Regions from separate parts of the Homo sapiens genome. Here regions 2, 3 and 4 are each linked to region 1. The links are contacts of gene promoters, found by promoter capture Hi-C in blood cells and fetal thymus (Javierre and others, 2016). All regions are on one chromosome and are shown on one strand. Each heading gives the region's core, a stretch centred on a gene start or on the middle of the fragment in contact. The rest is flanking DNA. Distances are from core to core; before and after follow the strand shown. Region 1 holds the start of JAK2 (Janus kinase 2). Region 2 has its middle 66 kb from the start of PLPP6. Region 3 overlaps CDC37L1 (cell division cycle 37 like 1, HSP90 cochaperone). Region 4 overlaps CDC37L1 (cell division cycle 37 like 1, HSP90 cochaperone).

Region 1 (2,700 bases), core at 91-2,590:
TGTACAAACTTATTATGAAACCAAAAGCAATCATTTCCCTTATTCCCACTTCCAGTTTCCTTCTCCATACTCAGCCGCTCCTACCCTTTCATTCAGAGAAATGGAGTTTCTCCTAACAGATTAGTAATTACTGGAAAACAAACTGGGTAAATTCAACCGACACAGCAAGCTTAGGCAGATAAAACCATGAGGAAACATTCAATGTGGTAGCAGAAACCCCAGCAAGAATAGCTAACGTGTTCTCCCAAAAGCTATCTCTTATTGCTTGGAAATACTCCTCTTTAAAGGATTAAGAATCTCTGGCTGCTTAAGAAGAAAGGGTAATGGACAACGTTTTTCGTTTCTCTGCAAAGTCACGTTATGTGTAAAGCCAACAAAAAAATGTTTCTTAAAGGATCCAAGACGAACAACAAAACACCCCAAAATTACTCTCCCAGATCAACATTAAAAGTTTAGCACTGACATTTTCAGAAGAGTAAGCAACAATGAGCCCTGCCTCTCTTCACACGCTTCCAACCTTCCCTACGCACGCACTCCCAGCTCCAGACACCTTCGCCTTTACTGCAGCGATAAAGGACAGCACACCCACCGTCGCGGGAGGAGGAGGAAGAGCCTCTTTTTCTGCAGAAGAGAAACAGTTCACATCTTGTTCCTGTTGCCTGCTTCTGAAACCTAAAAACAGAAGCAGCAGTTAACTACTACCACATAAATCCAGGGGAAACAAATGCTTTTTCTAGGCTGTTTAAGTGTCTAGAAAATTTTAAAAAGGAATAAGGAGGCGGGAGCGAGGGAATTATAAGACACAAATGGAAGCAAATATCACCAGCAAGACTCGTTCTAGGTGTCGTCTTAAAGAGGAAGATTTTTCTGGCTCAGAAGTTTGCTGCCACTAGCAGGGGGCAGGCGGGACCAAAAGGTAGGAAGGGGGTGGAGAGACAGCTGCTGCCCCCCACCCAGAAGCCAGGCAGAGATAACACCCACCGGCTACACAGATCGGGCGACCAGAGCGCGCCCTCGAGCCCGCAGGGGCGGCTCCTACCCGGCGGGTCAAGGTCTGCGAAGCCCCGGGACGGGCACGGCTCTGAACGACCTCCAGGCTGGGCCCTCGGGGGCCCTCCAGTGTGGGCTCAGCTCCCACTCACATCCCTCGGCAGCGAGGACCAGGCCTCTCCCTGCGCCGCAGCAGCCCTCAGCCCCGACGCGCGCCGCAAGCCCGGGCCGAGGGGCCCGACCGGCCGAGAAGCCGAAGTGGCGACGCGAACACCCAAGCGAGCCGGGCGCCGGCCCAGCCTGTCAGCGCCGAGGGAGGCCGTTAGCGGCGTCCGCTGCTGCCCCCTTCTGCTCCTCTTCCTCTCTCCTTCCTGCAGCCCCACACCACTCCCACTTCGGGCAGCCGGGAAGCCCGTCACAGTTGTCTCCACCCTCTCCGGGGCCACACCGTCTTCTCAACGCCGCGGGCGACACTGGCTTCGCCGCCCTGCTAGCTTCGAACTCAGCCTCCCGGTTGGCCTGCAGTCTCCCCGAATGGCAGGAGACCGGGCCGGATAGAGGCTGGGGGAGAGCCGGACGCGCGTCCTGCAGTGCGCGTGCGCCGCTCGGTGCTGGTCGCGGGACCGGCAGGCGCGGGCCACGCAGGGCAGCTGCCTCTCGGGAAGCCGGCGAGCGCGCGTGGAGATTCCTGGGACGGCCCCTGGGCGTGAGCGCGCAAGGAAGTTAAGGCGGCGGCGCCTCGCGAAACGCTGGTGCCCGGCTGGAGCTAGGCGCCAGCGCTGGGCCCGGCCCTCACTAGATGGGCGGGTGTGTGTGTGGCCGCCGCCCTCCAGGGAAGCGGCCGGGAGTGACTCACCCTGGCTGGCTCCCCAGCGCGCAGCCTGCACTGGAGGAGGCCGGGCTGCCTCCGCGCGGAGACTCCCCTCCCGCACACTTCTCCGCTTTCGGCTTTTCCTTCCACCTCCCGGGTACAGCAGACCCGTCCTTCCCCAGTCCAGGCTGCTAGGCCGAGGGGAAGTGGCGCCGGGGGCCGGGGACAACGCGCTCACACACGCTGTTTCGTGGCAATGCGCCCTCGAGAGCCTGACTCCCATCAGCCACCTTGGCTGGAAAGGGGTGAGGGTGGGATGAAGCGCCCAGCCGCCTGCGGGTTGGCAACAAGGCCTAGCGAATGTTTCTCCTAGAGGAGAAACAACTTTACCGGCGTGGCCTGGTGTAGCCCGGGAGAGGGTGGAGACAACGGCTGTGACGGGCTTCCCGGCTGCCAAAGGGCCTCATTCATTCATTCAAATATTTACTGAGTGTCTACTAGGTGCCGGGCTGTAGGTCCCCAGAGATACCAGGTGAACACGACCCCACACACTCCTTGCCCTACTGGATTGTATTCTGATGGAAGCGACAAAACAACAAACAACGCTTTAAATGCATAATGTGCGGGGTGTGTAATTGCCACTAAGAAAATGCATAGTTTTCTGCTGCCATATACATAATAACAAAGAAAAGGAGTAGAAAGTGAGGAGGGGGTGTGCTATTTTACGGTGGCCAGGAACGATTTCCTAGAATAAGTGACATTTGAGCAGAGATCTGAAGGATGAGAATGAACCAGTCCCATGACTATCTGGGAAAAGAATTTCAGGCAGAGGGACTCCTGAAGGCAAAGACCTTGAGAAGGGAAAGTGTTTGGCAAGTTCAAGGATCAGGAAAGAGGTC
Region 2 (2,700 bases), core at 107-2,606, 390 kb after region 1:
ATCCATTAGCTCCGCCCACCTCACCCCCCACGCCCCACCGTGTGTGTGTGTGTGTGTGTGTGTGTGTGTGTGTGTGTGTGTGTGTGTGTATTTTGTTTTCTTTTTTTATATATATAAAAAATAGAGAAGGAGTCTCCCTATATTGACCAGGCTGGTCTTGAACTCCTGGCCTCAAGTGATCTGCCGCCTCGGCCTCCCAAAATGCTAGGCTTACAGGTATGAGCCACTGCGCCCCTCCGAGTACCTGGATTTAAATCCTAGTTCTGCCATTTACAGGCTGAGTGCCTTGGACAGATAATTTAACCTCTTTGTGTCTCAATGTCCTTATGTATAATATGGAGGTAATAATAGTATCTGTCTAATAATGTTATTGTTGGTAGATAATACATTTAAAGTACATTAAATCAGTGCCTGGCACAAAATGAGCACTCAGTGAGCATTAGCTATTCTTATTCTCATCTCATTTAATTTTTTGAGGAAAGCATTGCTCCCCCTATTTCTTGCTAAGGACACTGAGGCTCAGAAAAGCAAGCGTCAGAGCCAGTTTGCAAACCCTGCTCTGTCTTGTTTCCAAACCTCAGGTTCTCTGTACCACTTCCTGTCACCCCTTTGCTGCCACCTGGTTGGCCCTGAGGCATCACAGATAATTCAACTTAAAGGGTTTGAAAAACATGAACTCAGAACATTTCAGAATAACAGAGCAACTAAGGTCTCTTGACAGAAGTTGGAACAATTAACCACTTCTTGTTTAGGCCAACAAGAGAGGCTTTCTGCTCGTATTTCCTGTCATTGAAATGTTATGTTTGTAAACGGCATTTTTAGGAAGTCCCCTCCTCCCCACCACCCCCAAATAAACTTTCCTGTTCCTTTTTCTCCAGGAACGGACACTCACTGAAATTGGAATTTTGAACTGAGATAAACATCATACTTGTTTTATTGGGATGACTTCCAGGAACAGACCGTAGGCAGTGGCAGTAGGTGTTATTGCTGGAAGCGTTGCATTCATGGTGGGAACTCTTCATTATGAAAGCTCATTTGTTGTTGCTTAAGGGATAGGATGACGTCCTTTGTTCACTGGGTCTCCTCCCAGCCCTGCAGTTAACAAAATTGATCCCACAGCCTCGCATGGACCCACTCAACTTGTATTTGTTAAACTCCTTCTGTGTGCTCAGTATTGCGCAGGACCCTGTGGGGTCGGGAGGGGTCACACTAAGGGGTGTAAAATTCAACCCGTGCCCTCTTGAAGTTTCCATACTTACTGGGGCAATGAGACCTTAAACGAGATATTTCAAGTGTGATTCCCAAAAGGTGTTGCAAACTCGGATGTCTTTAGGACCAGGCAGGATTTGTGACTGTCAGAAGCAGTTGAGTTTGAAATAATGGTGAGTGATGGGAGCTGGAGTGAAGTGGAGCATGTAACACCCCATCCTCCCACAAGGTGTTCATCTTCAAATTCAAATCTAAACCAGCCAAAGGCTCTGTGGCCCACATAAAGCTGGTCTGAAGCTGGGTCTTGCCCAAAGCCACCAGTTTTGACTCCTGTTTAGTAGTATAAAATAATGGTATTGATTTACAGTGAGGTTTGTGGAACTCAATTTCATTACTTTATAATCGTCTCATATTGATTAACTTAATAATATAAGGCAGTATCTGATTATGTACCAAGATACTGTTGCTTCTGTATGTTTCAGGAGGTTAGAAACAGTGGGGTATTGGTGTTGGAGGCCCAGAACTTATTTTCAGCATTTAAAAAATAGGCAGACCAGGTAGAGAAGAGATTTGGGAGAGTGAGGCAACTGGGGAGAGTATAATGAAGCATATGTATATAGAGAAGAGGAAATGTCCTTTGGGGTATCTTCTGAAGTGTCCTAAATATTCAGGCGAGTATTTTCAACTTGTGCTGTAGACAATAAGAAGCCGTTAGAGTTTTGGAGCCAGAAAGCAAAGTATTAATCTGATGATCTTGTGCAGGATGGTTTGGGAGTAGGTAGAGGCTGGCGGTGGGGAGACTCTGACAAAGCCTTTGAAGAAGTCTGAAAATTAGGGCAATAGAACCTCAACTGAGTAGGAGAGTCACAGGAAAGAGAAGGGCTGATTAGACATCAGGGCTGGGAAGACATCATGAGACAACTTATTTTAGGGGTGCTTAAAAACCTGTGGGTGTATGGGGGAGGTACCTGGCCCTTTTAAGGAAGAAGTGGTTAAGTCCGGTGGCCTGGGCTTGTTACAAAGTGAAGGTGAACTACTTAGTCAGCAGAATGAGGTATTGATGGAGAGAATAATTGCCCTGCAGAAATAAGGACACAGTGTCCTTCATTTTGTGGATTCATATTCTTCATGATGTGTGAGGCAAGATGAACTCAACGACTAAGAGAACAAAATAGGAGCTCAAATGAAATCCTTTAGGGACTTTTCTTTTTGTGGTCTCTTTTTGGCCAGGGAGATAGAATAGGGAACACTTAGAATTACTAGGGGTCAAGGTGGGTGTTGAGAAGAATGGAGGCCTTGTCTGGGATTTTGTTTAGTATTTTTTTAATCCCTCTGAATCTTGTTCTTATCGTGAAGGCCTTATGGTTGTAAATAGAATTTAGAGGATTATCAAAATACAAGTTGTTTATTCAAGAATTACGTGGGAAGAGAAAATGCAGGAGTACACCATGTCCAGTGATTCATGTCTGGACAGAGGCTAAGTCTTGGGTC
Region 3 (2,700 bases), core at 181-2,680, 280 kb after region 1:
TAATGGGTACTTAGCCAAAGACTACACCCAAATATAACCAAAGCTTATGTTAAGTCATAAGATTAATCCTTCAATAATAAGGATAGCATAATTGGCTTTGTTACCTAATTCTACATAAACAAAATCATCAAATATCCTGGCATAACTGAAATGACTTACAGAGGAAGTAGTAAAGCTTGGAAGTATTCTATGGTAACTGAGCTGAAAAAGGGGAAATGCCAAATGTTGTAAATGCCATCATTACCAATAAGAGTCACCAAATTCTCAGAAATAGGTAATTGGCAGCTCAAGGCAGTTAGCACTACAAGATTTCTCTTGCCTTTAAAAAAAAAATCATTTTTAAGACTCCTTTTTTAAAAGGCTACATCAAAAAATAAACCAAAATAACAAAAATTAAAAGGCAACATGAGTAAAATAACTACAAATTTAAAAATCAGATTATTATTCCTGTTTGTTCTTACAAGCCATTAGTATTCTTTTAAAACTTACTCCCTGAGAGATCCCAGACTATGTTAAGAAAGAGTGAGCTTGAAGTTATTCTTATTTAAAAAGAAAATCTATATTAGCTCATCACATTTGATATTATTATAACTCTTAAAGTCAGCAGGGTAAAATCAAATTCTAAGGAATATAGTTTTGAGAATAATTTGAGGGTAAATGTAATGTATATATCAAATTTGTATTATAGTCAAGGATTTAACTGATGGTGCCGAAAGTCAAGTATTTAAGAGTTAAGACTTTTAAAAATTGTACCCCCCAACTTATTTAGTAAAGTACATTACCAACTACTGATTTATTGCTTTTAATGTGATGAAACACCAAATTTGACAGCTAAAGTAGCAGTGGGATACAAGTATGTTTTTATCTTTAATCATTTTTGTAGAATAGGACATGTACATATCCATATAAAAAGAGACTGTAGCAGATGCCTCCCAGAATCAACCAGTTCTTGTAAACATTGCATTTGTGCAGATTTTCATACTTGATTCCAAAATTGAGAACAATAAGATTAAAAGCAAATTTAGTAGCCACAAAAAGTCCAGTTTGACTTCCTGCAACATATGGTACCACTCTTCTCTTCAGAACAAAACAAAACAAAAAACCTAGCAGCACATTAAAAAAAATTTACAAAACATTTCAGTACTCTTTCCCTCCCATCAAAAACCGAACAAAAATAAAGTGCAGCACCCATAAAAGTGTCAAGAAAATAGCCAAGTTCTTCCTTTCTTGTAACAAAATAGCACTTGGCCTCAGCAGTCTTAACCAAATTATACAGTGTCCATCATTTTGGGTTCATCATCTTCTTTATGTACCACCGAGTTTAAGCTGCAGAGAGCTGTACTGATAGAATACTGAAGATAATCTGGATTCTGGGGAAAAAGAAAAGGTAGATTGGGGGGAGAAAAAGAACGCATTATAACCAGTTTTATGACAGTACATACATATATATTCAGTTTCACCGTCCTATTTCTCTGCAGTGTAGTAGAGCAGTAGGAAAGAAGATGGACTTTGGAGACAGACTTGGGCTGAATCCCAAGAAAATAAAGAAAAAAATAGGATGCTATCACCTATGAGATGTGATAAAAGAATGATACATGTAAAAAACAGAAATGTTAACAAATACCACCTTTCTTCTCTGTTTAATCATACAAGGCAAGGCTACAACCTCCATGTGATTATATATACATAGCTACTGATAATTTAAATATGGTTTGAAGTTAGCAATGCATTTTTAAGATTACCATCTAATTACAACAGTAAATACTAAAACTGCAAATCATCTAAATAAAGAAAAAATTTACTGGGTAAAAATTATGGATATCTTCAGGGTCTATTGTGGTTTCCCAAAGGTTAAAACAAACTCAGTGAGAAATCTGTACACTTTTGAGATGTATTTACACCCTTATTTTTTAAACTGAGAATAAAACAACAGGATTTGTTAAACAAGCATAAACTCATAAATGTTATGCTTGTCAATTTCAAAAACTGGGAATAGAAAACATAAAATCTTACTCAATAAATGCAAAAATAAAACCATTATTAAAGCACCATGAATAAGGGTATAGCCCTTAAGACCCAGAACTTTAGAAAATTCTTCCCCAATTCAATTTTGTCTACTCAATTGTTCCGAATATCTGCTAGTTACTTAAGACTTTTACCACTTGTATTACTAGTTTTACTTATATTTATTTTATTTAATAAACACCAGTGAGGACAGTAGTCAAACAGGATAGATGTCTTAAACCTCACCATCCAATAGGAGGTTGGGAGGCAGGGTTTTCTAAAGATCCTCCTAAGAAAGTACAACACTTTGTGAGATTCCTTTATTCTAAAAGTCAAAAAGCTAGCTGGAGTTCGGATTATTCCCAATCAGGTCTTTATGAAGGAAGTAGCAGGGACAACTGACTGAGGTCTGGGACACTCACACTGGGCTTCAGTTTTAATCCTGCCTCTATTTAGTAAAGCAAGCCTCAAGGAGAACAAAATTCACAATTTAGTAAAATTAAAAACTAGTCTACAGGATAAACCTAAAGTTAACTGTTATTATTTCTATATCCAAGAGGCCTTGGATTAGACCTCTCAAAACTAAGGATAATGAATGGTATTTGGCTTATTTCACACGATTGCTGTCAATTATTAAAAAAAAGAAATGAAAAGCTAAATGGTTACCCACACTTAAGCTTTATCAAAAATGACCAA
Region 4 (2,700 bases), core at 45-2,544, 300 kb after region 1:
GAAAAGGAGAAAAATTAAGCTATATAACTTATTTTGTAAGAAAAGATGTAAGAACTTTTGTATATAAAACTTCTTTTGGCTGGGCTCAGTGGCTCACGCCTGTAATCCCAGCACTTTGGGAGGCTGAGGCGGGCGGATTACCTGAGGTCAGGAGTTCGAAACCAGCTTGGCCAACATGGCGAAACCCCGTTTCTACTAAAAATATTTTAAAACTTAGCTGGGCATGGCCGGGAGTGGTGGCTTACACCTGTAATCCCAGCACTTCAGGAGGCCGAGGCGGGCGGATCACGAGGAGGAGCTCGAGACCATCCTGGCTAACGTGGTGAAACCTCATCTCTACTAAAAATACAAAAAATTAGCCGGGCATGGTGGCGGGTGCCTGTAGTCCCAGCTACTTGGGAGGCTAAGGCAGGAGAATGGCATGAACCCAGAATGGCAGAGGTTGCAGTGAGCCGAGATTGCACCACTGCACTCCAGCCTGGGTGACACAGCGAGACTCCATCTCAAAAAAAAAAAAAAATTAGCTGGGCACAGTGGTGGGCACCTGTAATCCCAGCTACTCAGGAGGCTGAGGCAGGAGAATCACATGAGCCTGGGAGGCGGAGGCTGTGGTGAGCCAATATCGTGCCATTGCACTCCAGCCTGGGCAACACAGCAAGACACTGCCTCAAAAAAAAAAAAAAAAAAAGAGAAAGGATAATATATCAAGAAAAGTAATATGGTAATATGGATAAATAGAAATTATCTTGCATTTTCAAATTATTTGGGAGCAAATATTCTTTTCTCAAATCGAAAAATTCTAAAAATAATGTATGTCTTATTTCTCCACAAACTACCCAGACAACATTTGGCCATTTGGGCAAACTATCCAACATGTATTCAGATATTAAATAAAATATTAGGTCACATTCTAATCCATGACCATACAGAAGTTTTAGAGGGACATTAAACATGATCTGCCTTTACATTAATTGGATCTAAGAACTACATATCACATACTACATTAAGAAGTCTAGATCCCCCTTATTTGATAAAATTAAGCCAAAGCTTTTTTTAGGATTATAAAATGTTAATCAATTAAACATTTTATTTTTTCCAAATATTCCAATCCAAAAATTTAAGTCTTAAAGCCAGTAAGACCAATAAGTAGGTTTGTAATAAACACATGAACTCAGAATTAATAATCAGTTTGCAAAAAAAATTTTTTTTTTTGAGACAAGAGTTTCGCTCTTGTTGCCCAGGCTGGAATGCAATGGTGTGATCTCGGCTCACTGTAACCTTTGCCTCCAACAATTCTCCTGCCTCAGCCTCCCGAGTAGCTGGGATCACAGGCATGCGCCACCACACCAGGCTGATTTTGTATTTTTGGTAGAGACAGGGTTTCTCCATGTTGGTCAGGCTGGTCTCGAACTCTGGTGGGCAGTGCAGTAGGTGGGAAAATATACTGGACTAGGAGTCATAAGTGGGTTCTAGTTTTAACCTGGCCACTAACTAGTTACATGGCCTCAGGGAAAACACTTTTAATGAGAGAGATAAGCTTACTCACTTCTAAAATCTCTTCCAGCTAAACAAATTTAGAAGTGCACAAGTAAGAAATTAACATACAGATATTTCTCTAGATTACTTCTGTAATTCAACCACAATGCACTGAAATTCTTGACACCCTTTTTTCTCTTCATATGCCTTCAAAATTGACAATGGCATCTGCTGTTCATTCTTCTTTCCTCCCTAGCACATCATGTGCTTATAATACATTTTGTATATAAAGATGACACTAGTGATCCAAAATTAGTGGGTGACTAATGATGGACCCATCAACTCTCATTCTGTCCTCCTAAAAAATGTCTTGTAGTTCCCCAGTGACTTAGCTGGCCAAAGTACAGACAGTGGTTATGAAACAGCATTTTTCTCTGTGTGAAGCCAACTAACCCTGTTAGCTGGACATAAGATTGATAATGTCACGCTTACTGGTAAGCAATTTAACTCATTCTCATTAACATCTAGCAAAATAAGTTGAGAGGAAAACTACTATTAAATCTGTTACACTCTTGGGAACCCCATTTTGCAAGAAGGCGGCAGACACTTATGATCCATTGAATATATTAGTGTTTAGTCTGTGATTCTGAAATATACTTCCAAAACACACACGGATTCGGAGAAAAAAACAGGACAAGGTGATGCGAGTATGTAAGTATCCCCTAAGATAGGTCCCTGAAAAATCCTTAATAGTATATCACATTTGGATACGTTTCAGTCGCAGGAAGGCAGGAATGCTGGATTGAAAACACAATACCAGGAACCTAAGAGAAGTCTGAAGGAAAACACAAGTATATGCGTATATATTTTCACTGGAGAATGACGTGAAGCAAAACTAAAAAACAAAACAGTAAGGCAAAGATGGTCACGCGAATGGGAGAGGTGTACGCCAGCGTCAAAAGCGAGATTTAAAGAATTTACTCAGTTGTCAACATCGGTGAAAATCGCATGTGAAATCTTTGTCAGGACTCAGTGTGATGCTGAACTACAATCATTCACTGTTCCTAGCAACTGTGCACAAGTATGCTAGAGCCTTTAACAGAATAAAGTGCTTGGGGAAAACCTCTCACAAGAGGACAAAGGGTCAATGTTACAGCATGAGCCGCCCCAAATCTGAGTGCTGTCAGGAAGGGGAGATGGAGGAAGGTATTCCAAGAGTGAACA

Evidence for each region. Contacts are between HindIII fragments. The CHiCAGO score rates a contact against its expected background, and 5 or more counts as called.
Region 2: a contact is called between a fragment that was not itself captured here and the fragment with the promoter of JAK2 in region 1, in 1 of 17 cell types (activated CD4 T cells). The highest score is 5.1, in activated CD4 T cells.
Region 3: a contact is called between a fragment that was not itself captured here and the fragment with the promoter of JAK2 in region 1, in 1 of 17 cell types (erythroblasts). The highest score is 5.3, in erythroblasts.
Region 4: a contact is called between a fragment that was not itself captured here and the fragment with the promoter of JAK2 in region 1, in 1 of 17 cell types (erythroblasts). The highest score is 5.4, in erythroblasts.

What each region holds. Positions count from the first base shown.
Region 1 is chr9:4,983,912-4,986,611 of GRCh38, reverse strand. JAK2 (Janus kinase 2) reads right to left here and starts at 1,340. Exons shown (of 25, transcript NM_004972.4): 1 at 982-1,340; 2 at 590-672. RefSeq lists enhancers at 538-587, 1,388-1,527, 1,456-2,289 and silencers at 918-1,247, 1,638-1,717, 1,758-1,807. The HindIII fragment of the contact is 8,817 bases long and covers 172-2,700 here.
Region 2 is chr9:4,594,709-4,597,408 of GRCh38, reverse strand. It overlaps a transcript of SPATA6L not described here. Among named protein-coding and RNA genes, the nearest start is that of PLPP6, 66 kb to the left of the region's middle. The HindIII fragment of the contact is 5,639 bases long and covers 1-2,700 here.
Region 3 is chr9:4,704,681-4,707,380 of GRCh38, reverse strand. It overlaps CDC37L1 (cell division cycle 37 like 1, HSP90 cochaperone), which reads right to left. Exons shown (of 7, transcript NM_017913.4): 7 at 1-1,370. The coding sequence ends at 1,269. Among named protein-coding and RNA genes, the nearest start is that of CDC37L1, 26 kb to the right of the region's middle. The HindIII fragment of the contact is 2,506 bases long and covers 178-2,683 here.
Region 4 is chr9:4,680,150-4,682,849 of GRCh38, reverse strand. The region is part of intron 1 of CDC37L1 (cell division cycle 37 like 1, HSP90 cochaperone); the gene reads right to left. Among named protein-coding and RNA genes, the nearest start is that of CDC37L1, 1.9 kb to the right of the region's middle. The HindIII fragment of the contact is 490 bases long and covers 1,050-1,539 here.